Regions from separate parts of the Homo sapiens genome. Here regions 2, 3 and 4 are each linked to region 1. Evidence: promoter capture Hi-C in human tissues and cell types (Jung and others, 2019). All regions are on one chromosome and are shown on one strand. The core of a region is centred on a gene start or on the middle of the fragment in contact, and the rest is flanking DNA. Distances in the headings are between cores, read along the strand shown. Region 1 holds the start of DGAT1 (diacylglycerol O-acyltransferase 1). Region 2 holds the start of ZNF250 (zinc finger protein 250). Region 3 overlaps ZNF252P-AS1 (ZNF252P antisense RNA 1). Region 4 holds the start of COMMD5 (COMM domain containing 5).

What was found. The method cuts DNA at HindIII sites, captures the fragments that hold promoters and counts their contacts. A contact is called where the count stands out against the background at its distance.
Region 2: a contact is called between the fragment with the promoter of ZNF250 here and the fragment with the promoter of DGAT1 in region 1, in 2 of the 25 tissues and cell types used here (lymphoblastoid cells and spleen).
Region 3: a contact is called between a fragment that was not itself captured here and the fragment with the promoter of DGAT1 in region 1, in 2 of the 25 tissues and cell types used here (lymphoblastoid cells and spleen).
Region 4: the fragment with the promoter of COMMD5 here is called in contact with the fragment with the promoter of DGAT1 in region 1 in 3 of the 25 tissues and cell types used here (dorsolateral prefrontal cortex, lymphoblastoid cells and pancreas).

What each region holds. Positions count from the first base shown.
Region 1 is chr8:144,324,309-144,331,244 of GRCh38, reverse strand. It overlaps DGAT1 (diacylglycerol O-acyltransferase 1), which reads left to right and starts at 4,393. Exons shown (of 17, transcript NM_012079.6): 1 at 4,393-4,808. The coding sequence starts at 4,609. It overlaps SCRT1 (scratch family transcriptional repressor 1), which reads left to right. Exons shown (of 2, transcript NM_031309.6): 2 at 1-680. RefSeq lists silencers at 3,967-4,686, 4,697-4,766. The HindIII fragment of the contact is 53,552 bases long and covers 1-6,936 here.
Region 2 is chr8:144,895,825-144,902,782 of GRCh38, reverse strand. It overlaps ZNF250 (zinc finger protein 250), which reads left to right and starts at 1,330. Exons shown (of 6, transcript NM_001109689.4): 1 at 1,330-1,384. LOC124902042 reads right to left here and starts at 1,159. Exons shown (of 1, transcript XM_047422534.1): 1 at 502-1,159. The coding sequence starts at 1,101. The coding sequence ends at 502. RefSeq lists silencers at 397-476, 1,537-1,646 and enhancers at 173-776, 777-1,379, 1,380-1,984. The HindIII fragment of the contact is 10,274 bases long and covers 1-5,159 here.
Region 3 is chr8:145,003,297-145,010,653 of GRCh38, reverse strand. ZNF252P-AS1 (ZNF252P antisense RNA 1) reads right to left here. Exons shown (of 1, transcript NR_026974.1): 1 at 4,608-7,357. Among named protein-coding and RNA genes, the nearest start is that of ZNF252P-AS1, 4.2 kb to the right of the region's middle. RefSeq lists enhancers at 7,001-7,130, 6,874-7,357. The HindIII fragment of the contact is 4,220 bases long and covers 1-4,039 here.
Region 4 is chr8:144,851,628-144,858,602 of GRCh38, reverse strand. It overlaps COMMD5 (COMM domain containing 5), which reads left to right and starts at 5,555. Exons shown (of 2, transcript NM_014066.4): 1 at 5,555-5,764. RefSeq lists enhancers at 4,935-5,034, 5,585-5,914, 5,492-6,340 and a silencer at 5,325-5,514. The HindIII fragment of the contact is 6,847 bases long and covers 2,562-6,975 here.

The DNA.
Region 1 (6,936 bases), core at 3,144-5,643:
GTGCCAGCTGTAGCCTATGGTGTGGCCAGCCTCACCCCCAGCAGCAAGCGTGGCTGCCCCCACAAGGATGACCCACCGCTCTGCACAGCAGTGCCCACATCCAAACACCCTACACAACCAGGTGTGGTGCCTGCACAGCTCCCAAGCTGGGGCCTGCCCACCTGTGCCGCATGCACACGCACACACAGGCGCCCCCACCTCACCCCACCCCATACTCCTGTCTACCTACCTAAGGAGAAAGCTGGAGGGCTGTGGGCCCGTCAGGGTCTCCTGCTTCCCCCTACACCCCGCCGCCGTGGAAAGCCATGGGCCCCCTCCCGCCCCCATAACTAAGCAGCACAATAACCGACTTAGCGAATTCAGGTAGAAGGAACGTTTAGGTAGCACCTATTTTGTACTGATTCTACAAGTAGGGCCCGAGGTGCGGGGGCCCTCGGGTGGGGGCTGCGGCCGCCGGCCCGCCCGCCCCCACCCCCGCCTGTGCCCCGCCGCCTTGTACATATTCCCACCCGGAATAGGCCGGGATTTTTACTCGGGCCGTGCCCCTCTTCCGCCCCCATTTGGGGCCAGGCCGGCCGGACAGACGGACGGACGGACAGACCTCCTTCCTAAGCACAATAGCACCAGCTCCCCGGAGCACCGCACCTCCACAAGGAGAATAAATGCCACTCTTGATAGAATTTGGAGTGTCGGGCTGATGTGTCCTGGGCTGGGCCCACGCTGTTGGGTGGCTGGGAGGGTCTTCCCAGTCTGGCAGTACCTCAGAGGCTGGTGCTGCAAGGGTCAGCCTGAGGCCTTTCACAAGACGGCCCTCTTCTTCCACTGGGGAGGGCAGGCTTGGCAGGCCCAACCACAGGAGCATCAGGTCTGAAGGCAAAGTAGTTGGCATTTCCCCTGGGGTAGGTGGATCTGCTCCACACCAGGAACAGGAGCACTAAGGGGTTCCAGTCTAAAGTCAGGCCAAGCCCACGGTTGGACCAGAGTGGGCAGGGTAGGTATAGTAGGAGCTGCTGTTCCCCAGCCTGGGTGCCTTCGCTCTTCTCTCCCTGAAGGAGCTTTATGCTGTGATGGAAGGCCTGATAGCCACCTCAAGCCCTCTGAGATGCTGTTGCAGGAAATGGGGACAGTGGAGAGTTCGAGGTCTGGCCCTTTTCCTGTGGCCTGCTGCCCACATTCTGACCCCCAGGCTTCCCAGATATGCTCCCCCAGTGTCTGCGGATGCCTCCATGGATAGCTGGGTTGGACCGGTTCCAGGGAGGAGGTGCCCAGGGGGCAGAGAGGCTTCTGCAACCATCGCCCAAGGGCTCTAGACAGAATGAGTAGTGGAGGAGATAAGGGACAGGGACCCTTTGCCCAGCAATGTCCCCTGGTAACCAGGTAGGCAGGCATGAGCCGAGAGGCCCAAAGTCTTCGGGCACATACATTCAAACCAGGTCAGTCCTAGATCCAGGGCCAGCAAAGCTGCCCACACCCTAGCAGGGACAGGGGACAGACCTGCCCAGACTCCACTAGGGTGGAGAGCAGGGGAACCAGGTCTGCAGCATGTCATGGCCTGTGTGCCTGGCACTTGGAGGAGCTGTGGTGCAGGTGGGTGCTCTCTTTGGGAGAGCACTACCAGCAATGACAATGGCAGACAGCAATGGCCAGGAGGAAGGCTCCTAGCCTCACTCCTTCCAAAGGACTCCAACAGCGACTGGCTGTTTCTACTTCTCCAGGATTCTGATGCGTAGAGTGGGTGGAAGGATGGAGGTGGCCTCCCTGAGGCCTGGGATGAGCTCGACCCCCCAGTTCCTCCCAGCCACAGACACAAGTTTCCCTCTGAATGAGCAGCACAGGCCATAGACCACCACTGGCTGTGAACTCTCCTGGGACCCTTGCTTCTCACAGGCCTTCTTGGCCCACCCATGGCCCCTAGGCCCTGGGATCAGCCTGAGGCCCCAACCCACTTCCAGCCCTTTATTCCACTAGCCCTGGAAGGCAACTCGCTTCGGGCTTGGGCCCCCTCATTTGTTGCTGCCCCCAGCAGGGTGATCTGCATCATGCTTTCCTCGATGACCCAGCCATACACACCCTTGTCCCCAACCAACCTCACCTACCCTGACCATTCCCCTCACCCTAGATCCCAGGGTATAGGGCCTGTCTGGGCAGGGCTTCACCCACCTCTGGAGCTGCTGCCCCGCCACGCCCCCACCCCCGGTGGCAAAGCCCTTCCTTAATGGCCCGCCCACAGCCAGTGCTTTCCCCATTGGCTCCAAGCCTGGCTCTGCTCACCAGGCCCGACCCATCCTCCCTGGTGGTCCAGTCCACCCTCCCATTGTCTTTCTCCTGTGGCCACTTGCCGGCTTTGAGTTGGGACGCGACCACAGGTTGAGTCGTTGATCTCCTCTGCCTAGCATGAGGTGCTCCGTGGCCAGGTCCAGACCTCTCTGAGCTTGCTGTCAGTCCATACTCAGACAGGTCTGGGCCTACCTGGCCACAGAGTGTGTCTGCCAGCGACTGCATTCAACAAATGAATATTCTGAGAGACTGGGTAGGAGATGGGGCTGGTCCTGACCGACCAAGGCCCATGTGTGAGGGGCTCTTGGGTCCAGTGAGGGCGGCCCCACTCGGCAGGCTACACAAAGGGCATCTGCCAGGTAGCTCCAGCCTGCCTGATACCTGGTTGGCAGCAACCCACAGCGGCCTGTGGTGACAAGAATATGTCACCAGGGGGGCAACCAAGGGGGCAGCCCTGCTGGCCACTGTTGGTGGAGGTGGTGGAAGAGGACGGAGCTCAGAGGCGAGGCTGTGACCAGCCCACGGGAGAGGACCCCACCTCAGGAGGAGCACCTGTTTGCTTCCAGAGAAGTGCTGCTTGCCCCTGCTCACCCCAGAGGAATGAAGGTGTTTCTAGAGTCAGAGTCCTCAGTGAACCCTGGCATCCTGAGATCCAGGATGTTCTCACTCCATGCCCTGTGCAATATGCACACCAAGCCAAGGTGGGCCGCAACTGTGGCTGTTACAGTTGATTAGTTGCTTCATTTAACATACAAGATGTCTGGGGCAGTGGCTCATACCTGTAATCCCAGCACCTTCAGAGGCCGAGGTGGGAGGATTGCGTGAGGCCAGGAGTTCGAGACCAGCCTGGGCAGAATAGCGAGACCCCCATCTTTAGAAAAAATAACAACAGGCCAGGCGCGGTGGCTTGCGCCTATAATCCCAGCACTTTGGGAGGCCGAGGTGGGCGGATCACGAGGTCAGGAGATCGAGACCAGCCTGGCCAATATGGTGAAAGCCCGTCTCTACTAAAAACAGAAAAATTAGCTGGGCGTGGTGGCACGCGCCTGTAGTCCTGGCTACTCGGGAGGCTGAGGCAGGAGAATCGCTTGAACCCAGGAGGTGGAGGTTGCAGTGAGACGAGATCGCGCTACTGCACTCCAGCCTGGCGACAGAGTGAGACTGTCTCAAAAAAAGAAAAAAGAAAACAAAAAACAACAGGGCGGTTGCACAGGCCGTGCAAATGCACAGAAGCCTCTTGAGTCCCGGCGATCCAGCGGCCCAGACTTCTGACATCCTGGAGAGGCTGGCCCACGTTGGAAACTGGGAGGCCCTGAGAGTTGAGGGACGTGGAGCTCCTTGTGGAGAGAGTGGGTGGGCTGAGAAGACACCACCAAGGGGCCTGCGCCCTCGCCCTCGCCCTCGCCCTCCTCTCGCCGGGCTCTGCAGGCGGGGAGGTGGAGAGCCTGGGAGTCGCGTGCAAGGCAGGCGTCCCGGTGACGCAGGGCCTGGTGCATTTCTCCAGCTTGGTCTTCTGACCTGGCCCTTGTCTGACGTCCCCCTAAGGCGAAGAAAAGCAGGTTCCTGCCGGGGTAACCAGAGGGCTCGCGGAGCAGAAGCGCGCCAGGGACGTTACTGTAAGCTGCGTGCGCAGAAACCAACGCGCTGGGTGGCGGGCGACGCGAGCCGCCGCGGACACCGGCCCGGACAGCTGGACCGTGGCGCACTAGGCGCTTCCTAAATGATTGCCCGGAGTGACTCGCCGAGACCCCGTGTGTACACAAGTGGGACGAGGGGCGGGCGCACAGCGGCCAGGAAGTCGGGGCCCAGCGCACCCCTCAGCGGACCATCCCGCTCCGTGGGGCCGGACAGGACCCCGGGACCACGCGGGAGCGATGCAAGGTCCGTTCCCGCTGCGCGCACTTGCGGCCCGCAGCCCCGGCCCTGGGAGCTGCCACGGCTCCCAGGGTGCTCTGCGCCGGTGCGGCCGCGGCGACTACGACTCCCAGGGTGCTCTGCGCCGGCGCGCCCGCGGCGACTACGACTCCCAGGGTGCCCTGCGCCCCGTCAGCCTCTCCAGGCCCCGCCTCAGGTCGGCCGCGGACTACAAATGGACGAGAGAGGCGGCCGTCCATTAGTTAGCGGCTCCGGAGCAACGCAGCCGTTGTCCTTGAGGCCGACGGGCCCGACGCGGGCGGGTTGAACGCGCTGGTGAGGCGGTCACCCGGGCTACGGCGGCCGGCAGGGGGCAGTGGCGGCCGTTGTCTAGGGCCCGGAGGTGGGGCCGCGCGCCTCGGGCGCTACGAACCCGGCGGGCCCACGCTTGGCTGCGGCCGGGTGCGGGCTGAGGCCATGGGCGACCGCGGCAGCTCCCGGCGCCGGAGGACAGGGTCGCGGCCCTCGAGCCACGGCGGCGGCGGGCCTGCGGCGGCGGAAGAGGAGGTGCGGGACGCCGCTGCGGGCCCCGACGTGGGAGCCGCGGGGGACGCGCCAGCCCCGGCCCCCAACAAGGACGGAGACGCCGGCGTGGGCAGCGGCCACTGGGAGCTGAGGTAGCGGAGCGCCTGACCCCCTAACCTCTGACCCAAGGGCCCCGCGACTTTCCGGGGTTGGCCGAAGCGCGAGCTCCGAGTCCGAGAACATGGGCCCTGGGCTAAGCGGGGATCGGTGTGCCCTATGGGCCCTGTGGGGAAACTGAGGCTTGGGGAGAGTCACCTGACAAGGTCACTGGGTAGGGGCTCTGGAGCTGGCCTTGGCCAGGCAGAGGGGAGCCGGCAGGTGTCCCGCATCCAGATCCTCTTGGGTCTGTGCATCCTCAGGGGCTCCTGAGGAGCTTTTCGAGGGGCGGGCTGGTGGGGGCCCGGCCCTGGACAGTGTCCCCTTATATGGAAGGAGTCAGATAAGATCTGGGCAGTTTGTGGTGATAGGTTCCTTCTTGGTGCTATGAGCGGTGCCTTGCGGGTAGGAAAGGCTCCCAGAGGAGGGCTGGCCTGCCAGGGAGGGGGCCAGAGGAGCCCAGGCCTGTCCGAGGACAGGGGAATCAGCAGCTGCCCCGGACAAGGGGCAGTGTTAGAGGCGTTCTTGTCCTTGCAGACCCTTCTGAGAGTGGCTGCGTGGCCCATTCATTGCTCCAGTGGTTAGGCTGGCCTGGAGCCCTGCCGATGTTGCCAGAGCCAGCGTCTGTTGTAGGGACAGAGAGTTGGGTTCTGTGTTGGGACTTCCATCCTCCAGGTGGGGAGTGGGGTATGGGGGTGGTGGACACACCTGCAGGCGTGTGCCCTGCTCAGCTGGATGACTGACAGAGAGGGGTGGAGGGAGAGAACCATGGCCGATGGGAAGGACTTGGCCAGCCTGGGCATTGGCTTCCTCCACCAAGCTGGCCTTGAGCAATCCCCTTGCCACCCTCCATCCCCCCTTTATGGCCTTTACCCTGGCCCAGGGGCCCTCAGGGCTTTGTTTTAGAGAGCAGCTGAGGGCCTAGAGGTTATCAAGGCAGAAGTGGGCTGATTTTGGACATGTAGTTGGCAATGATTTGCTCTCTCAGTGAGCAAGAACAGAGCTTTCCTTCACGGGGCACCATGGGGAGGGGGTTGGGGGAGGGCAGGCACTGTCGTGGCCCTCAGGGTGCTCAGTTCATCTGGGAGATAAGATAACCTCAGCGAGAGTCAGGCATGGAGCAACATGGACAAAGGTCGGGCACGGAGGCCTTGAAGGGGCCGTGGGGAGGAGGGTGGCCCTCCTGAGAGGGGTGCTTGCCTGCTGTGGGCCTGGGGTGCTGGTGAGGGAGGCTGGCCTAGGCACCTCCTACCTGAAAAGGAGGTGTGGCTCCTGGAGTTACCCTCTCTCCAGGAGGCAGGGGGATGGCTACATGACCTGTGGAGGACGTGGGAATTGAGATTTCTTTTTTTTTCTTTTCTTTTTTTTTGAGACTAGTTTTGCTCTTGTTGCCCAGGCTGGAGTAAAATGGCACATTCTTGGCTCACTGCAACCTCTGCCTCCCAGGTTCAAGTGATTCTCCTGCCTCAGCCTCCAGAGTAGCTGGGATTAGAGGCGCCCACCACACCCGGCTAATTTTGTATTTTTAGTAGAGATGGGGTTTCTCCATGTTGGTCAGGCTGGTCTCGAACTCCTGAACTCAGGTGATCCACCTGCCTTGGCCTCCCAAAGTGCTGGGATTACAGGTGTGAGCCACCGCGCCCGGCCGGGAATTGAGATTTTTTTTAGTGTGAGATGAGGGTAGTCCCAGCTTTGGGCCAAGCCGCCACCTGGGGGTAGGCAGGGGAGAGCAGTCACCTTCTTGCTTTGCAAACCAGCAAGGCTTTCCTGTACTTCTGCTGGTGTGGGATGGGTGCAGAGCTCGTGGGAGAGGCCTGGTGAGTCCCTGTCCCTGCCGTGGAGGTCGGGTCTCCTTGGGAAGAGGGGCAGTAGATGGAGAGGTGAGGCCTTCATGGGGCTGGAGGCTGAGACCAAAAGTCTATCTGCTCCTGGGTCTCCAGGACTTGCAGGCTATGTGTGCTTGTCCCTCAGACCTAGGGATGCAGCAGGGCTCGGCCACTGGCTGTGGACACTGGGCTCTTCTCCCTGCTGTCTGCGTCAGGCCTTGCTCTGCCTGCCCTCCTGGGACTTGGCCTCTAGCGCACCCCCTTGTCAGCCTCACAGCCTCCCCTCCCTCCAGCTTCC
Region 2 (6,958 bases), core at 81-2,580, 570 kb before region 1:
CTCCGGTCTCCTTGGCCGTCGACCTTGAAATAATAAAGCCTTCTCTTTTCTCAAAAACTGGTGCCACCGTTTTGGCTTCTAGTGCGCCAGGCAACGGGCCCATTGCTCGAAACGCGCGTGGTGGATGGTAGCTCCGTGAAGTGCGAACCCCTGCCCGCAAGGGCTGCTAAGTTCGCTGAAGCGTAGCACAGACTTCGCGTCTGCCTGGTGCGCGGCAAGTACGGAATTATCGCCACATCCTCCCGGCCTCCGCTCCCAACAGCACGGGCCGGGCACTCGCTTCAAGCCTACCCCCTAACCTTAAGCCTTCCCCGCCGCCCCCACGCAGCCCCCAGCCCCGCCCTGTGGGGAAGCCTCTTGAGAGTCTGGGCCCGCCCACGCGCCCAATGGACGACGCGGACCTGACCTTCGGGAGTGGGGCCAGCAGAAGGTGGACTAGGCGTCAGCCTTCCCGTCCCCTGACACCGCTCCAAACCAGCCCCACCCTCCCTGCCGCGGCTGTCAGGTCCTGGGCTGTGCCCGAAGCCTCCACACGGGTGTGGCCCGCGCCCTCGTGAAGGCCCGCCCCTCTCCCCCAGGTGCGCGGTGTAAACACACCAAAAAGCAAACACCAGGGCCGAGTGGGCGACGGAGACGGTCGCTGTTCAGTGACGCCCCCTGTCGGGAGCACGCCGGGCCGGACACAGCGAAGAGCGGCTGCGCCTCGGACCTCGCAGCACTCAGCCTCCTAAGTGGGAGGAATAACCTCACGCAAGTCATCAAACAAGAGGACTTCAGTGTTGCAACGAAGGAAGAGAAAGGGCCCCTGAGAAGGCGACATTCGCACTGCAGCGGCGCAGGGACCAGCCAGGCGGCTGAGGGCAAGGTCGTTCCCAGCAGCGGGAACCGCAAGGGCAAAAGGCTCGGAGGGGGGAACGAGCTCGAGTTCCAGGACGGCCGAAGCCAGCGCAAGTCGAGGAGGGACTGCGGGGCCGGCAGGGGTGTCCTCCACAGGGCGACGGCGGCAGGAGCTCGGGAACCGGGACTGCGAGCGGGTAAGGCTCGGCGATGGGCTGTAACCTCCGCGCCCGGAAGTGCGGCCGGGGAGCCGGCCGGGCCCATTGCCCAGAGGTGTTCGGCCCCTCTAGGGATCGCGGAGGTCTGGCTCTCGGTGGCTCCTGAGAGCTCCCTGCAGTCGGTCACCGAGAAAGGCTTCGGGCGGGCAGGCGGGCCAAATGACGTAAACATGCTTGCCCTCCAGGATTGGCGAACTCGGCTGTGGGGGCGGGAACTGAGGGGCAGGAGCCCCCAGGGATTGGCGGCTGCGCAGACGGGGCGGGGCAGCCCTTTGTCTGAAGGTGCTGCGGGATGCCGTTCCTTCGCGCGTGAGGCTGCGGCTCTGACGGTGAGTGGGGGGCGCGTGTCGTCGCCGGCCAGGACCCTCTCCCATCACGGACACCGGAGCCGGTGCGTCCTCCACACGAATCGTGGACTCTTCCCCGCGAGCACGCACTGCCTCCTGCGTTTACGCTGGTCCCCTCCCCTCACGGACGCGCGGCGGCCTCCTCCCCAGGGCCAAGGCCGCGCCCTCTCCCCCGTTCGGGGTTCCCACCCTTCCCCTCGCCCGGCCTTGGACCCCCTCAGGCCCTCCCGCACCCCCGTCCGCCTCGGACGGCCTCGGTCCCTTCCCCGCCCCTACCCCCTTGGGCCCCGTCAGACCGGCGTCCCTCCCACCTTGGATCTCCTCAGATCTCCGGCCTTCCTCCCCCTCGTGCCCTCCCGCGCGCTTTCTACCGGGCGCCGTGCCTAGGGCCAGGATGGCCGGAGTCCTAGGGGCGCAGTCCGGACCCCCGGGCCGCTCTTCTTGCCGCGCTCCTCGGGGTCTCGCGTCCCCTGGGATGGGCCCGGAAAGGGGTGGGGAGCTTCCCCAAAATATAAAAATGGAGGTTTTTTCTGTTTGATGCACATCCTGAGGAGCCCCATGAAGACCCCGGCGGCGCACCGGGAGCGCCACTTTACTTAGCTATAAAAAGTCTTCCCGCGTCAAGACGAAAACGAGCTGCTTTCGTTTCAGCAGTTGGTCGAGTGTGCTACTTGCCGGGTGTCTTATCCTCTCCCCATTTTGCTGTCGATGCTGTCTTTTCTGTTACTGTGTTAGAGCCCTATTTTAATGAATGAGCCCAACTCTTTGCAACACAGCAAATATTTTCCTTGTTGTTTATTGGCTTAATTTTAAAATTGAAAATAATATGCAATACTTCTTCTAATGCAGGCATGTCAGAAATATATAAAAGTCATCCCCCCCGACACTCTGCCAGTGTATGAAGAGGCAGGAGCTGTGAACAGTTTCAGAATTTTTGAATGCCGTTAGAGCTTTAGGCACGCACGCACACCCTTTTTTCTGTCATCAAAGGGAAGCTGGTGTCGTTTGACTAACACCAGGGGCGGCAGGGGGCGCTCCACTCGTCCTCCGCCGGGTGGGTACTCGCAGATTTTTCAGTTCGTAACTTGTCTTCTGGACATAGGTTTCTCTGTCCGGTGGTCTCTACGAAGTGGGTAAGGGTGGGAGATTGCCATTGACATTCCCGCCCTGGACGGGACTCTGGTCCTGTGGGCTTTGACAGGTCACTGCATTCCTGCCAGGTCGACGTTTTGCGTTTATTGGTGAGATTGAAATCCCTTCATTTGTGTTTTCGCCATTTGTATTTCTTTGTGATTTGCCAGCTCATATTTTTTTCCATGTATGTTGAAAACATGCTTCTCAATTTGTCTTTTGACTCTGATTATGGTGTTTGATTCTGGTTTGGGCTTTTTCAAAATAGAAAATTTAAAATTTTTAGGAGTCAAATATTTTGCCTTAAGGCATTTTGGGCTTTGTGCTGTGTTTTAAAGGGCTTTCCCCACTCCAAGATTATTTTTAAAATAAACTCTTGTTTTTCTGTGGTACTTGTAAAATGTTGGATACGTCTGGAATTTATTTTATTGTGGGGTGAGTTTGGAATACAGCTTTTGGAATTCCTTTTTTCCTCTAAATCATAGCCATTTCTAACACCATTGATCTTCCCATTGATTTGAAAAACCGCTTTTGTCATATACTAAATTGTTGCATGCCTTTAGGTCCATTTTTGGAGTTTGGTAGCTTTGATGTGCATATGATTTTGATTTATAAGCTGCAGATCTGTGGAGCTCTGCTTTTTGCTTTTGGTATTTTGCTTAGAACAGCCCTTCCCACATGAAATAATAAAAATATACCTGTATTTTTATTAAAGTTCTTTTTTATTGAATATAATAATTATACACATTTATGGGATACATGTGATATTTTGATACAAGGATAGCATACAATGTATAATGATCAAATCAGGGTAATTAGGATGTCTGTCACCTCAAACATCATTTTTTGTGTTGGAAACATTTCACATCTCTTCTTCTGGTTGTTTTGAAATATACAATAAATTATTAACTGTAGTCATCTTACCGTGGTATCAAACACTGGAACTTATTCATTATATCTGACTGTATGTTTGTAGTCATTAACCCACTTCTATTCATCTCATACCTCCCCCCAACCCCACCCTTCCCATCCTCTGGTAATCATCATTCTACCCTCTACCTCCATGGGACCAACTTTTTTAACTCACACATACGAGTGAAAACATGCAATATTTGTCTTTCTGTACCTGGCTTATTTCAATTAACATAATGACCTCCAGTTCCATCCCTGTTGCTGCAAATGACATAATTTCCTTATTTTTATAGTTGAATCATATTCCATTGTGTACATATACCACATTTTCTGTATCCATTTATTTGATGTACATTTCGGTTGATTCCATATCTTAGCTATTGTGAATAGTGCTGCAGTCAACATGTATGTTCAGATATCTTTTTGATATACTGACTTCCTTTCTTTTGGGTATATAACAAGCAGTGGAATTGCTGGGTCATATGGTGGATCTATTTTTAGTTTTTTTCATATGCTTGTTGGCCATACATATTGTCTTTTTTTGATAAATTACTCAGATCATTTACCTGTTTTTAAATCGGATTAGTTGTCTCTTTCTATTGAATTGTTTGACTCCCTTCTGCATTCTGGTTATTAATCCCTTATCGGATGGATAGCTTGTAAATATTTTCTTCCATTCTGTATGTTGTTTCTTCACTCTGCTGATTGTTTCCTTTCCTGTACAGAAGCTTTTTAGTTGATGTAATTCCATTTGTCTAGTTTGCTTTTGTTCCTGTGCTTTTGAGGTCTTACCCAAAAAATGTTTTCCCACATGAGTGTCCTCAAGTGTTTCCTTGATGTTTTACAGTTTTCTTTATAGGGACTCTGCATTTCTAAGGTTTAATCTTGTTTCTTGTTGCTATTTGTTGAATAGATTTTTTTCCATTCATATTTTCTGATTAGGTGTTACTGGTATATAAGAAAGCTATCAGTTTGGTTGTTTTTTTGTTTTGTTTTGTTTTGTTTTGTTTTGTTTGTTTGTTTATTTGCTTTTTTTCTTTTGAGATGGAGTCTCACTCTGTTGCCCAGGCTGGAGTGCAATGGCGCGATCTTGGCTCACTGCAAACTCCACCTCCCAGGTTCAAGCAATTCTCATGCCTCAGCCTTGGGAGGAGCTGGAATTACAGGCACGTGCCACCACACCCAGCTAATTTTTGTATTTTTAGAAGAGACGGGGTTTCACCATGTCACCCAGGCTGGTCTTGAACTCCTGACTGTTGGGATCAGGCCCCCCCAAAATCTGGCTATAAACTGGCCCCAAAACCGGCCATAAACAAAATCTCTGTAGCACCGTGAAATGTTCATGATGGCCATAATGCCCACGCTGGAAGGTTGTGGTTGTGGGTTTACCGGAATGAGGGCAAGGAACACCTGGCCGGCCCAGGGTGGAAAACCCCTTAAAGGCATTCTTAAGCCACAAACAATAGCATGAGCGATCTGTGCCTTAAGGACATGCTCCTGCTACAGTTAACTAGCCCAACCTATTCCTTTAATTCGGCCCATCCCTTCGTTTCCCATAAGGGATACTTTTAGTTAAATTAATATCTATAGAAACAATGCTAATGACTGGCTTGCTGTTAATAAATACGTGGGTAAATCTCTGTTCAGGGCTCTCAGCTCTGAAGGCTGTGAGACCCCTGATTTCCCACTTCACACCTCTATATTTCTGTGTGTGTGTCTTTAATTCCTCTAGCGCCGCTGGGTTAGGGTCTCCCCGACCGAGCTGGTCTCAGCACCTGACCTCAGGTGATCCACCCACCTTGGCCTCCCAAAGTGCTGGGATTACAGGCATGAGCCACTGTGCCCGACCAGAAAGCTATCAATTTGGATACATATTTCTGATCATTAATTCTGGAAAGGTTGCAGGTTAGGGTTAGTTTAGGTTAGTTAGGGTTAGTTTAGATTAGGTCAAGTTTAGCAGTGTTTCGCCTTGTGCTCACAAGTGGCTCAGAAGCTGCCTCTCTTGAAAGTGCTTTCACCCTAGCGGGTAGGGGCTCCTTGGTGATGAAGAGGGAGCAGTGCTTGTTAGCAGAAAGTCCAGGGAGTGAGGATGATGAGGAGCAGGAGAAGGCAGTGGCCCTGGAGGAGATCCTGGAAGCTCATCCCAGATCAGGAGACTCCAAATGTGCCTGTCCCAGTGTGTGACCATGTGCAGGGTCCTCTGGAATGACAGGCACACTGCTTTGTCACATCAAGACAGTCAGGAATTCCAAAAAGAGTGATAGGAATGTCTCACTGCGATGTGGCTTTTGATCACCTAAAGAAAACTGGAAAGCCAGTTGCTGCTAATAACGTTGATCTATTGTTTTTGTTTTGGATTATTCCTTAGGGAAATTTTCAAGATTGAAATTCCTGAGTTTGAAAAATTAGCTCCTTATGCTGCCACCTTTGTAACCAGTGGGTGGGAGGGATCATTGCTCAGCCAGTGCCCTGAGTGGGTGTTCTTTATATTGCCCATTTGTTAGCTGTTGGCATGGCCTCAAGAGGGGGCTCCTCAAACTCCACTTCCAGTATTCTGTGGCGGTGATCTCCAGCCTGTCCCAGCCCCTGGCCCTGGAGCCTGGCATCTATAGAGGACTCGTCATTAGCCTGTCTTAATTTTTTAAAACTGTCCACATCATCCTCCTTCCCTGCCTGAACTGTGTTCTCATGGAGCAAAGCTTGGAGTTGGACGTCAGAATCCCGTGAAGTGTGGATGGAGTGTGTTGTTAAAAGCCAGTTTCTGGCACCCCCGATAGCTCTTACATTTTCCTGTCTTGAGTATGCAAGGTTTAGGTTGAGGTCCATGGTGTTTGCCTGGCCTGGTATCCTGTTACAGGCTCGTTCCAGGAAACTGAAACCTTTATCTGCCATAGTGTAAGTAAGGAAAAAATTTAAACTAGTTAATACCACTTTTAAAATGTATTTTGTTCATATTTTTTTTTAATTTTTATTTATTTATTTATTTATTTTGAGACAGGGATTCATTCTGTTGCCCAGGGTGGAGTGTAGTGGTGCAGTTACAGCTTACTGCAGCCTTGACCTCCTGGGCTCAAGCAATCTTCCCATCTCAGCCTCCAGAGTACCTAGGTCTACAAACCAGCTAATTTTTTAAATTTTTTTATAGAGACGGGGTCTCACTATATTGTCCAGGGTGTTCTTGAACTCCTGAACTCAAGCAATTCTCCCACCTTGGCCTCCCAAAGTACTGGGATTATAGGTGTGAGTCACCATGCCCAGCCATTTTTGTTCATTTATTACCAGAATACAATCAGACTTTGTGATAGGATTTTTTTTTTTTTTTTTTTTTTGAGACAGAGTCTTGCTCTGTTATGCAGGCTGGAGTGCAGTGGCACAATCTTGGCTCACTGCAACCTCTGTCTCCCAGGTTCAAGCTATTTTCTTGCCTCAGCCTCCTGAGTAGCTGGGATTACAGGTGCCTGCCACCATGCCTGACTAACTTTTTGTATTTTTAGTAGAGACGGGGTTTCACTA
Region 3 (7,357 bases), core at 680-3,179, 680 kb before region 1:
AAACTAGCTGGGTGTAGCGGTGTGTACCTGTAGTCCCAGCTAATCAGGAGGCAGAGACAAGAGGATCACTTGAGCCCAGAAGTTCAAGGTTGCAGTAAGCCATGACTGCACCACCCTGCACTCCAGCCTAGAAGATAGAGACCCTGTCTCAAAAAATAAAATAAAATATAGGAGAATGGATGTCAGTAAATAAATGAAAGGCACAAAGTCATTAAAGACACCATCATACAAGAAATTAAAGCCAAAAAAATTATCATCTAATTTTTAAGTTAGGAAAAATTATAAGAAAATATATACCAAGAAGGAAGATGAAAAAAAAAGAATATGATATCAATTAAGGAAAAAAATAACCATATATTTCCATAGTTAAAGTGAATGCTTGGGAAAGGGTACTGCTATAAATTTTCCTGACTATAAGCATCTCACAAAAATCAGTGAAAATGCAGGACAGGAATGTGCATTTCCTGAAGAGAAGACAGGTATCGGAGCCTTGGAATCTTCTTTATAAAGGGCCCAACTCCAGAGATGGCCTTCCCATAACAGTCATATTTACTTAGACTGGATTTTGCAAGGTTTTAGCGTATGCTTCTTTCATAAACAGTTAAAGATAGTCCTAAGCTATCAAAAGCACATTTGCTGGCAAATATGGCTCTGAGAACACTAACAACAATTAGTTCATGTCCAGTTATTAACAGTTCACTTGATCTTACAACTAACTAATGAGGTAGATGACATACATTTTGTTATTATCTCCATTTTATAAATGAAGGAAATGGATTCTCAGAGAGCTTAAGGGACTTGCCCAAGATCTCTAAGCTTGGGTCAAAGTCTTAGACTTTTCAGCTGGTCAGTACATGATAGTGCATGGGCACCAATCTACCTGGGTTCTAGTTTGGTCAATTATTAGAAGTGTGACCTTGGCCAAATTACTCAGCTTCTATATGATTTAGGTCCCTCATCTGTGAAGTAGGAAAAAACGATAATAATTACCGGGATGGTTAACTTTACCTGTCAACTTGACTAGGCATGGGGTGCCCAGATTAAACATTATTTCTGGGCAAGGGCACTTCTGGATGAGATTAGCATTTGAATCAGCAAGGTAGATTCCCCTTCCCAATATGGGTGCACATCATCCAATCTGTTGGGGATGTGAAATAGAAAAAGTGGAGCAAGGAGGAATTTGCCCCTTTATTCCTGTCTCACCTTGAGCTGAGACATCTAATTTCATTTTCTCCAGCCCTGGGACAGAGGTTTATGCTGTCAGCTCCCCTGGTTCTTAAACCTTTTTTAAAAAAATATAAATTGCCCAATCTCAGCAATGAGAGAATATAGCAATGAAAGAAAAGACTTTCTTTTTTCTGTTTTTTTTTTTTTTTTTGAGATGGAGTCTCGCTCTGTCACCCAGGCTGGAGTGCAGTGGCATGATCTCGGCTCACTGCAAGCTCTGCCTCCCAGGTTCCCACCATTCTCCTGCCTCGTAGCTGGGACTACAGGCACCCACCACCTTGCCTGGCTAACTTTTTGTATTTTTAGTAGAGATGGGGTTTCACCGTGTTAGCCAGGATGTTCTCGATCTCCTGACCTTGTGATCTGCCCACCTCAGCCTCCCAAAGTGCTGGGATTACAGGCATGAGCCACTGCGCCCGGCCTAAGACAAGACTAATACACCATGCCTGCTGTATGTAACAGAAGCGTTTGCTCAAAGGCTGACTGAATAGAAAGTTCTCTCTCGAGCATGTTTGTCTCTCAGGAGCCCGCTTACCCCAGCACCTTCCTGGGTCAGTCATCCACAGCTATTTATCCATGCAGCGCTGTATCTGACAGATTGTGGAGGGTTTAGTAAAGTCAAAATCTTGCTTCTTGGGAACAGGCTCAGTGGATAACGTCTTCCACAAGAGCTCGGGAGCTTCAGTGGGGGTGATAGTGTTACAGTAGGTAGTCAGGCAGTCAGGAGAGCCCTCCCACCCACCAGGAACACCAGGTGACCATCAGGGGACAGTCAGGTAGTTGTTAGTTGTCTCTCTCAAATAAGAATTGGTTGCTGCCAGCACAAGGGAAAGGCAGTCTCCCAACAGATAGAAAAAACCTGAAGCTGGTGATCAGCAGCTTCCCAATGAGATCTTAGGAGTTGGGCAAGTGGGCTTGAGCATGCACACAGGGCGGTGAAGTGGCAGAGTTTAACCGGTTGATACCTTATTAGAAGACTCAACTGGTAAGGAAAGAAACACCTTAAGTGAGCATACACACAACTCCAGTAAACACACTGGGCATGTGTCCCCACTTCCACCCTGCACATGTGGACAGCCCACCCCAAGGGAGGAATCAGAGGAGAAGGGATGCTCCCCAACCCCCGACCGCCACAACCTTGCCAGTGTATAAAACCCCAAGTCAAGGGTCAAACCGTGCACTTAATCTCTTGAGTGGCCCACTTGGCCTTCTTCCAAGTGTACTTCGCTTCCTTTTGTTCCTGCTCTAAAGCTTTTTAGTAAATGTTCACTCCTGCTCTAAAACTTGCCTCCATCTTTCCCTCTGCCTTATGCTTCATGCCTCTCCGTCAAATTCTTTCTTCTGAGGAGGCAAGAATTGAGGCTGCAGCAGACCCATGTGGATTTACCCCTGTTAACAATAGATCACACTGCGGCGAAGGAGACAGAAACGCCACAAAAGACCCTGCAGCCCGTCAGGGAAGGAAGCCCGAGCGCCCCAGACGGCCAGCCCTACCGGGGGACTAGCGCGAAAAGCCTAACTGCGTTCCTGGAGAGAGGGGGAGGGTTCAGAGCTGACAGCAGCTCCAGGCCAGTAGTCCCACGCACACCCCAAGACTCATCTCCTTTCCTGCTCCCAGAGGGAGGAAACAACCTGGGCGGGAAGTGTGGTCCTGAGAAGTCCTGAGGCAGCGTCTGGACTTGAACTCAGCTGGATCCACTCTAGGTGCCCTTGGAGAACTATGGTCTCGGTGGTGTCCGGACGCACTGAGGCATCCTCTCTACCCTCACCCACTCGCCCGAGCTGTGCTGGGTCCCCAAAAGCCCCAGTGGGACTTCCTTGCCCGCACCTGCCCTTGCGCAGCTGGAGGCGAGGGAAGCCGCATGTGATCCTTACGGATAGCTGCGCTGTCTTCAGACGCTCAGAGCATCCCCCACTGACCTTAGCTTTCTGCCTTTCCAGCTCCTTTACAGTTGGGATGTTTTTTATTGTCGAGTTGCGCTATAGCAGAATGTTTGTATCCACCACAAAATGCCTGTGTTGAAACCCAGTCCCCACTGAGATGGTTCAGATGCGGTAATGAGGGTGGAGGCCCAAGACAGGATTAGGATGAAGGGCCCGAGGCTTCCCATTTCCGCTAGGCAAAGGTGCTGTGTGAAAACCACAGTCTGCAAACCAGGGAGCCACCTTCACCAAGAACGGCCAGCTGGCACCCTGATCTTGGGCTTCAGCCTCCAGAACTGTGAGAAATAAATTGTTGTCAAAGCCATTTAGCCTATGGTAGTCTGTTTAGACAAGTCGTAAAAGTTATTTATATATTCTGGATATTGTGCCCTTATCAGATATATGATTTGCAAGTATTTTCTCCCATTCTATAGGTTGTATTTTCACTTTCTTGATGGCATTTCTTGAAGCACAAAAGTTTTTCATTTTGAAGTCCAACCTATCTTTTATTTGGTTGCTTGTGTTTGTGGTGTCACTTATAAGAAACTATTGCCGAACTCTAGGTCACAAAAATTTATGCCTTTTTTTTTTCTAAGAGTTTTATAGTTTTAGTCTTACAAATAGGGGTTTCATCTTTTTTTTTTTTTTTTTTTTTTTTTTTTGAGACAGAGTTTTGCTCTGTTGCCCAGGCTGGAGTGCAATGGTGCAATCTTGGCTCACTGTAACCCCTGCCTCTTGCCCTTCTGCCTCTGCCCTTCCATGAAGACATCTTCAGCCTGCTTAGGCTGGACACACTGTGCCAGTCTTGCTATATGGATGGCCTCCACCTTGCTGCTCTTTCCTGCTTTGGTTCCCCCAGCCCTGGTATGGATGCTACCTTGCTCAGCTTTACTTTATACCTTTGGGACTAAGTTGTCTGGAAAGGAGAAGAGGAAATGTAGAATCTTGGTCTTTAGAATTAAAAGGCTGTGGTCTTTTTATTATGCCATGTTTCCTGCTTGCTGTATTGCTTCAGGTTGTGAGGCAGATAACAAAGAGTTGCCTCTCCAAAAGGAACCCCCAAAGCATGAAACCACAGTGGGTGGTATGTGTTAAAAAGGAGATATTGACTAAGCACCCAACTTTTTTAAAGCCTACAGAGTTGTGAGTCTACTAGAGAAATATCAGGGAAATCTTTGTAGAGGAAAACTAAGAAAATGTTTAAGAAAGTACTAGTCAAGTACATGTGAAGATAAATCACAGTGATCCATAAAAACATTCCATGGGAGAAAAGCCAGGAGTATAACAATGTTGACAGCATCCTAGACTTGACCTCAAACCCTGTAGCATATCTGAATGTTCCCACAAAAGAGAAAACCTATCAACGTAATTCATCTGGACACAGCTTCAGATAACTCACATTTTAACAATCACCAGAAAGCCCACATCCTAATGAAATCTCAAAAACATGCAGAACGTCAGAGTACAGCCTTTAATGAGCACCCAAATAGTTACCATGGAGAGGAATTGTGTAGTGTAGTGAACATGGTAAGCCTTAAGAAGGACTAACACAATTTAGAAAACACCAGAGATTTCACTATAAAGACAAGTTCTATGAAGGCAGAGTGTGGGAAAACCTTCAACTACAGCTCTAATCTTGTGTAACACCAAAGAATCCACATTGGAAATAAGCCTTATCAGTGTAACAAACGTGGAAAGGCCTTTGTTTAAAGTTCTAACCTAATTTCCCATCACAGAACTCACACTGGACAGAAACCCTATGAATGTAATGAGTGTGAAAGGGCATTCTCTCTGGGATCAACCATTATGAAGCATCAGGGGAATACTACTGGTGAGCAACCCTACACACATGTAAAAAATGTGGAAAGGTCTTTGGTCAGCATCCAGCCTTTATTCGACATCTGGAAGTTCACACAGGGTAGAAATCTTATGAACATACTGGATGTGGAAAACCCTAAAAATAACAGTTCTGCCCCGTTAGCCATGGAAGAGCAGACTGGTGAAAGCAGTGTACAAAGTAATAAAGACAATTTGCTAAAGGTCATTTAAACCACAGGACAGACTAGATCTTAGAGAAGTACAGTTCCTCCAGGATGTGACTGCTGTGTGCTGTGACCAGAAAGTAAATTGTACTCTACTAGTTTCAGCTGGAAAACAGTAAATATTTTTCTGAAATGTTAATCTGATCTTGCCTCTCCCTGCTTAAATCCTTTAATGACTTCCCACATCCTATAGCAGCATTTCTCAAAGCTGCTAACAGCAGAGGTAATGTGGAAGGAAAATGAAATAAAATAAATAACATTAAAGTTTAAAATAACAAACACAACATAGGTAATAGTTACCATTTAGTGTAGGCTATTTAGAAGTTATACATAGGCTAAGAAATTTAAGCAGCCACTCTCAGCATTGCTAAGAAGTTGCACCTGCGAGCTTATCTCAACCTTCCAAGCTTATCTCCGGCCTCGCGACTCCCTCATACTTCCGTAATTCCTGTTTTCCCTTACCCCAGCTCTGTCCAGCTTCAAGGTTGACTGGTCAAGATAACTAAATGTAAGTTTTCTCAGAATTGTCACAGGTTGAATAATTTACTGTCTTTGTCTGAAACTTGTATCCTGCCTTGTTTTTCACGCCTGAAACGACATATAAGCAAGCCTGCTTTCTTTGTCTGGGTCGGTAGCCATTTTGGGCATGAGCCTGCTCTAGGCTCGGGTGCCCGAATTGAAGTTCTCTTTGGTCTCCAACTGTCTCTTCGTCTTCCTTGGCTAGAGTCTTACTGCAACAGTAAGTGCTCACTAAATACCCCTAGTGAGTTTGGGATCAAGGGAGTAGGAAAGCAGGAAGAAAAGAAATAACAGTCAACAGGGGAAGTGAGATGTTGCAAAGGCCGCTCTCAGAACGGACCCCACTATCCTTAAAAGAAAAGGCTAGCTTGTGCCAATGGGCCAGAGTGGAACAGGCATCCCATGGAGTATACCTGGAAGATTCCTGGGTCTTCTGCATGAGTTGCCCCTAATGCCCACAGTGTTTCTAAACGAGAAGGCAGGTACGTGGTACTTGGGGCGGCCATCTGTGTTAGCTAACTGCCTTTATCCAAAGTTAAAATAAACCTCATGTCTCTATGACAAGCAGGTAATTGCAACTTGGAGCCAGCCATCTGCTAAACTCCCACAGAGACAAGGAGGGAAGCTATCTTCCTTGGCCTTTTTATTTCAAAGAAATCACTCCAAGGTCCTTAAGAAAGGTCCTTAAGAAAGAAATTCCTGGTTTATAAAACTGGCAAGAGGCTTATGCAGCTTTTTAAAAAATTTACATACATTTCAAGAGGGCAAAGAAAGATTTTCCTATTACAAAGTTTTCTAAAAGAAATGGTCTTAGTAAAAGGAAAGGAGTGTCTCTTCCCTTGGGCACCATGAAAAATCCAACTTTTAAAAAAATATTTAGGGCCGGGCGTGGTGGCTGACACCTGTAATCCCAGCACTTTGGAAGGCTGAGACGGGTGGATCACTTGCGCTCAGGAGTTCAAGACCAGCCTGGGAAACATGGCAAAACACCACCTCTACAAAAAAATACAAAAACTAGCTGGGCGTGGTGGTGGGCGCCTGTGGTCCCAGCTACTCCGGAGGCTGAGGTGGGAGGATCGCTTGAGCCCAGGAGTCGGGCCGTAATTGCGCCACTGCACTCTGGCCTGGGAGACGGAGAGAGACCCTGTCCCGCCCCCACCTTCAACCACCCCCCAAAAAATTAAAGATTTAGTGTGGTGGCGCGTTGCTTGTAGTCCCAGTTACTCGGGAGGCTGAGGCAGGAGGATCGCTTGAGCCCGGGAGGTCGAGGTTGCAGCCTGGGCGACAGAGCAAAACCCCATCTCTAAAAAATAAAATACCCTATGGCTCTTCCCACAACTGCTCATTCTCTGACATCTTAATGCTCCCACTGTCCCACTGAAGACGGGCTGCTTTCCTTTCCATTCTCGTAAGTCCTCCCTCCGGGCCCGTGCTCCTCACCTGCCCGGGTCGCACCTGGCCTCTCCCCTCACTCCGCTTCACCCCCGCCCGCCGCCCGTTCCGCAAGCGCGTCTCAGCACCGAGTGGTTGGTTCTCGAACTCCAGCTCCACCGCAATAGGTCTGAAACCTCTCTGCACCTCGGCTTCCTCATTTAAGCGATGGCAGCAGCCTTCTAGAGGGGGCGATGAGGTCAAAAGACTACAGG
Region 4 (6,975 bases), core at 4,306-6,805, 530 kb before region 1:
GTGCTGGGATTTCAGGTGTGAGCCACCACACCCAGCCAGTTCTAATTCTTACCAGTTCAGAGAACCCTGGTTCCCATGGGTCTTTCTTCCTGAAAAGAAACTCAGAAGGAAGTGGTTAGTTGGATTAGCTACAGTCTTCATCACTGGAACTGGTCTCAGGGCTGAAATGTTCTCTTCTTTTCTGTTCATTACTCATCCTGAAATTACCTCAACTGTCAACACAGTGGACCTCGGTGGGTCCCTGGGTTTGAGAAGCTCAAATGTCCTTGTAGCAACTGTAGCTTATTCAGTGGGATCCTTGCTGTGTGCTCCTGGGGAACTGGACCTCCAACCCTACAAAGTCTAGAACCATGTAGAGAGGAAACACAAAATCTCCCAGTAGGTTATGGGAGAGTCTGGGTGAATTGGGCCACTCCTGCTTCAAATCTTAGTTTCCCAGACTCATGTGTTCTTTCTGTTGGGAACACAGCACCATAAAAAGTATCCAAATTAATGCATGGCATCCCAAAGGATGGTGCCATCCTTTCAGAGCAGAGCATCCAAGCTGCTGCTTCAGCTGAGCCTCTAGAAGGCCAGTGCAGAGTTGCATGAGGCTGGCTGCTACAATACAGGTGGGTCCCATTAGGATGCCGCTGTGTGAGGATTCATGCCTCTGAATGAAGCAACCTAAGCCCCAGACAATGGTGTGGGCTGAGGCTCTGTAGGAAAGGCCAGCTGGTACCTGAAATAGGCATCCATCTGTGTGAGAAAAAACTGCCAGCCTTTCCAGGATAGAAAGGGCATGGCATCAACTCTGTTATGGACAATTTGGACATCCAGAGGTGGCAGCTGCCAGACAGGCCCTGGTAAGGGAGTTCATGCTCCTCCTGCCTCGGCCTCCCAATGTGCTGGGATTACAGACACGAGTCACTGCGCCTGGCAGCGTGAGACCCAGGGTGAAGGAGGTCTTCCATATGGAGTCTTTATTTTTGTCACCAGGGTCACCCCTTTCATGTTCCAGAGTGGCTGACAGTGAGGACTGGTGTCCACTGGTGAGTTATTTTGTCTGCTTGGTTGTTCCGTGCCTCATGTGTGCTGGATGCCTTGGTGGGCACTGATATGTGCGAACACCTCCCCACTCTGTGCCCCTCCTTTGTGTTCACCACTGCCTCAGCCCAGACCTGGTCTGCAGGCTCCTTTTCCTTCTGGCCCCCCCAGAAGGTGGGGACACAAGGCCACTGCCCAGAAGTCTGGGCATTCTCACCTCAGGCCACTTCTGCTTGCAGATGGTGGGGTGACCGGGCATGCCGCCTGCAGTTCTGCCCACTGGGAAGGTTTTCCTTCCCACCCTTGAAAGTGGCAGTAACACAGCTGCTGTGTGCCATGCAGTGAGCCCATCCATCTGCAAATCACACTCCTTCAGCCACACAGGAACCCTCTGCAGCTGTAGGCTTGAGCTGCATTTTATGTGTGCCATGCACTGAACCCATCCATCTACAAATCAAACTCCTTCAGCCACGCAGGAACCCTCTGCAGCCATAGGCTTGAGCTGAGGGAGGCATGTGGGCTAGACTGCCTGCTCCCTCAGCTCACTCTGGCACTCTGGCCCTGCATGGACGCCGTCCTGGCCATGCCATTGCCACCTTCTGATGGATGCTGCTGGGCTGCCTGACTTCATGCCTGGGGAGGCCTGACAGAGCTCAGCTCACACTGGGAAGTGTGGATGCAGGGCCATTTGGGGGTCCCATGGACAAGTGTTCTATTCTCTGCTGCAGGTGGTGCAGACTTGCTCTGGGATCCTGGGGCCTGCGTGGCCATCCTTGCACCTTTCAAATGCTTGCATCATTGTCCCTTGCACAGACTCCCTTCTGCTGAGACATTTTGTCAGGTCATGAGGGAAAGCTTAGCAGTGAAGCCACCACCTTGTGCCAGGGACCGTCAGTGCCCCACCTCCTAACCAGAACAGCACCCTCTTCACCTGCAGACAGTGGGTGGGCCAATCCCAAATGTCCATCTGATCACCAGTTTTCTCAAGCTGCTTCTGGCCCATTTGTGTTGGTCTGGGTCCTCCAAGAAGAAGACACCAAGATTAAGGATACAAACGTCGTGTTCAGAGAAATGTCTGGGGTAGAAAATAGTGAGGTAACCAGGAAGATGGAGGGGCCATCAGATGGCTTCAAGCTTGACACCAAGTGGAGAGAAGTTTGGGTGGAAGTGTCTCAGGCAGCTCTGCGGTGATGCCTTCCCACCGCAGCTGACAGTTGGAGAATGACATTGGTTTGTGCCATTACTTGTGGTTTTGTCTTAGATCATTTGACCAGGGTGCTGTTTGCCTGGTTTGTCTCCTGTGAAGTTACCTTATTCCCCTTTGTAATTAATAATAATTACATTGCATGGTGATGTTTTGACACTGTGTAAACATCCTGAGCCTCATGCCCTGGAGACACCTGGCTTTCACAGGTATTGGTGCTTCTTGCCTGAGTTACCACCATGGTGGCTGCTGTGGCTGACTGAGGATGCCACAGGTTCTTTGGCCTCCCTCCCTTTGAGAGCAGGAGCAATATCTTCAATGTCTTCTTGAATCTGGGCAGGCTCAGTCACTGCCTTGACCAAGAGAATGATGATAATTTGAGAAAAAATTTCCAAAAGGACTGCATATAAACATTAAACTTCAGGGTCCTGAAAGTCCAGGAGATGGAGAGGCTGTTCTAGACTGAAGGAGACAAGAAACAGGACAAGTGGGTGCAACTTGTGACCCTCGGCCGATTCCTGATGCTCTGAGGGATTGCTCCGCAGTAAGCAGGTCACACAAACCTACCCCCAAAGGCCAAGGGAGCTGAGAGGCTGAAAAAAGAGGCTGACAAATGGAGTTTCTCCAAAAGAAACATTTACTAGAAACTTATGAACAAAGTAGTATCTCGGGCAGCCACAAGACAGTGGATCCCTGCACCTGCCCCCCAGAAAGCATCCTTTATATAGCAAGCTTTTTGGTAAAAACATGTGCAGCTGGTGATGTCTTAGACTTTCTTGCAAAATTCATGACTGCTGGGGAAGTTAGGTAGCATCTTTCTGAGGGGTTATCAATGCTACAGGCCTTGTGTGAAGACCTTGGTATGCAGGAGTCTAACATCGGCCACCACAGTGATTTTGCTTCGAGATGACACCACTCTTGCCAGGCAACAGGCTCCTTTCCTTCAGAGACATTGCAGGGACACCTGGTGACCCTTGAATGGGGGTCTCTGGGAAGGTGCACTATTCATGCAACCTTTTATCTAAGCTTGAAATTGTTTCAAGCTAAATTAACTTACAAATGTTGATCATAGTAAGGAAGGAGACCACCACTTCTCCTACTGCCCTCCTCTCCCCCTGTCTTGCCTAGTTTATAAGACAGGAGAAATGGGAGAAAACAAAAAGTGAGAAAGAAACAGAAGATAAATAGCCAGATGACCTTGGTGCCATCACCTGGCCCTGGTGTTAATAATATCAACCCCTAACCTAAACTACTTGTGTTATCTGTAAATTCCAGACATTGTATAAGAAAGCATTGTAAAACTTTCTGTTCTGTTAGCTGATGCTTGTAGCCTCCAGTCATGTTCTCCATGCTTTCCCAGTCTATCATAATAACCCTTTCACGTGGACCCTTTAGGGTTGTAAGCCCTTAAAAGGGCCAGTAATTTCTTTTTCGAGGAGCTCAGCTCTTAAGACACAAGTCTGCCAAAGCTCCCAGCCAAATAAAACCCCTTCCTTCTTTAACCCAGTGTCTGAGAAGTTTTGTCTGTGGCTCATCCTGCTACAATAAGATGAGAGTTCTCCAGGCACTCCAGGCACTCTGGCCTTTGGGTGGGAACTGTCTCCAAAACTCACCCCCAGGTTCCTGGCTCTCCTCACTTCAGGAGGGGGTGGGTCTGCCACGTAACCACCGCCCAGACCTCACAAGTGATAGCACTTCACCTTTTTGCTTCAGATATTTTAAAGAGAAATAACACCTTACAGATGCAGTCTCTTTCTAAACTTCCCAGATCCATTCCCTTTAAACAATCCTCCCTCAGCATGGTTTTTAGACTTGATTTGTTTTGTCTTAGAAATGGAGTCTTGCCATGTTCCCCAGGCTGGTCTCAAATTCCTGAACTGAAGTGGTCCTCACTCTGCCTCTCAAATAGCTGGGACTATAGGTTGCCCTCACCTCCTGCTGTGAGGTCAGTTCCTAACAGGCCACTGACCTGTAGCGGTCCACAGCCTGAGGGTTGGGGACCCCTGCTATAGGTGCACACCACCACACCTGTTTTTTTTTTTAATTTTGTAAAAATGAAGCCTTGATATGTCGCCCAGGCTGGTCTTGAACTCCTAGCCTCAAGTGGTCCTCCCACCTAGTCCTCATAAAGTACTGGGATTGTAGGCATGAGCCACTGCACCCAGTCTCCACTCCTATTTATTATTGAACACTATTCCATTGTATGGCTGATGTGGTTTGCATCTGTGTCCCCGCCCAAACCTCATGCTGAAAGGTAATACCCAATGCTGGAGGTGGAGACTGGTGGGAAGTGATTGGATCGTGGGGGTGGCTTTTCATGAATGGTTTAGTACCATGCCCTTAAGTTATGGTCTCATGATAGAGTTCTCCTGAGATCTGGTTGTCCACCTCCGCCTCCCAAAGTGCTGGGATTACAGGCGTGAGCCACCGCACCCAACCTGTCATTTTTATTATAACCCTTCTAATGGTATGAAATGGCACCTCCCCGTGGCTTCCATTCGCATTTCTCTAATAGCCAACAATGCCGAAGGCTTCATGTACCCATTACCCACTTTGTATCTTCCTTGATGTCTACTCACATCTTCTGCCCATTTAATTAGGTTGTTTCCCTTTTCAGAGTTTTTTTTTTTTTTTTAAGTTTTATTGGGCTATAATTCACATACCATATAATTCACCCATTTTGTACAATTCAATGATTTTGGCATATTATTTTTTAACTATGGTAAAGTACATGTTAAATAAAATGGCTCGGCCATTGTTTCGGACCGAGCTCCTGCGCTAGGGCCCAACAGAGCAGCCCAAAGCGGAACCGAGTCACGCGCGCCGGACGCCACCCGACAGGAGGGGAAACGGGGCAGCTCTCAAAACCCTGGAGGCGCAGACCGTCCACACGGGACAGGGACGCCCGCTCGGCTCCGCTCCGCGCTGATCCTCAAGGTCTCGCGGTTTCCCCGCCGCCCACCCGGACGCCGACGAAAGCCAGCGAGCTCCTCAGCCTCAGGTGACTGGAATTCTGACCCCAGACCACGGGACGCGTTCTCCCGCTTTACCCTCACTCTGCGCGGGCGGGGAGGGAGACGCGGGCGCAGGCCGCAGTTTCTACCTCAGAAACGGAAACACAACACCGCCTTCTTTTTCTTTGGGGAAAGAAAAAAAAAAAACTGTCTAAGACGAGGTCTGGGACCCCGCCGGCGACCCCCGATTCCCCCGGGCGGGGAGGGGGCGGGACCTGGCGCGGCCTCGGCTCCGCCCCTCGGGCCAGCGGACCACAGTGGGGCGGTCATTGCTGCCTTCCTAGAGCGGCCCGGAAGTGGCTCTCAGGGCGCTTCCGGGGACCAGGCCCGCTTTTGGCTGCATCAGCCGGGGATTGCCGGCGCCAGGTGCTGGGGGCGACTCGGACAGCGGGAGCGTGGGGTGGAGTAGGATGGAGTCTCCCTCCCGAGCTGGGGGTGTGGGCCTAGGAAAGGCTGCTTCGCCGCTGTGTTCGGAGAGCTCTGGATACTGCGGGGCTTTTCCGCGGAGGAGCGCCCGCCGGTAGGTTGGCCCCGAACCGTGGGGGCGGCGACGGCCGAGTGCCAATTTGACTCTGTGCACCAAGGTCCCCGCGCCCCGGAACGGGCGACGCCGCGCCCCCATCAGAGCCGCGGGTACGGAGTCAGGGTGCGAACCCGGCCTTCCAAGCCGCGCGACCGGAAGCGGGCAGCTCGGAGGCCTTCCCGGATGGCTCTTTGGAGTGGGAAGGAGCTCCTGGTGCTGGCGGGACGGTGAAGGAGTTGGCAGTGGGTGGTCGTTGACTCCCAGGGAGAATGGGGCGCCGTGAAGCCCGTGGGGAGCTCCTGGGCTCCCCCAGCGCTGTGCAGAGTGGCCTGACAAGTGCCTCGAGGACAGGAGCTGTGCCCCGCTGAGCTCTGCTCCAGTACCTGGTGTGCTGAGGTGGGCACGTGCGTTTCCTCTGGCATAGCAGGTGCTTGTGCTGCTGCACTGCTCCTTCAGGTGCGTCGGAACCCTCTTTAGTTGCCGCACTTGCCTCTGTTGCCAGCCGTTGCTCAGCTCTTCCAGCCCGGGGGTTGGGGCTGTGGTGGAAACAGCTGGGACTTCTGAATAGACAGGTCTAGGCTTCAGTCCTTGACTTTGGCAGCTGTGTTTAGAGCTTTGATTTCTTTTTACTTTTCTTTTCTTCTTCCCTGCCTCCCCTCCCTCCCCCCTCCCTCCATTCGTTCGTTCCTTCCTTCCTTCCTCACAGCATCTCTGTTGTCCAGGCTGGAGTGCAGCGGCTCGATTTCGTCTCACTGCAGCCACGACTTCCTGGGCTCAAGGGATCCTCTGTCCTCTCAGCCTTCTGAGTAGCTGGGACTACAGACGTGCACCACCACGCCTGGCTAGTTTTTTAAATTTTTTGTAGAAACGGGGTCTTGCTATGATGCCCAGGTTGGTCTCCAACTCCTGGGCTCAAGCGATCCGCTGGCCTCACCTTCACAAAGTGCTGAGATTTCAGGCTTGAGCCACTGCACCTGGCCTAGAGCCTTATCTCCCTCTCTGTCAGGTGAGAATGGTAATTCTTCTTGCCCACTGTTGTGAAGGATTCAAGATTGAATAGTTAAATGGTCTCAGTGTGGTCTGTGGCGCCAGCTGCAGTGTCCCTGTGTTCCCCGGACCGTTCCCCTAGTTCATTCTTTCATCTATTAATTTACTTGGAGAACTTGTGCTGTTTCCTGGTCCTCCTCCCTGCCCCCTACTTCTCTGCC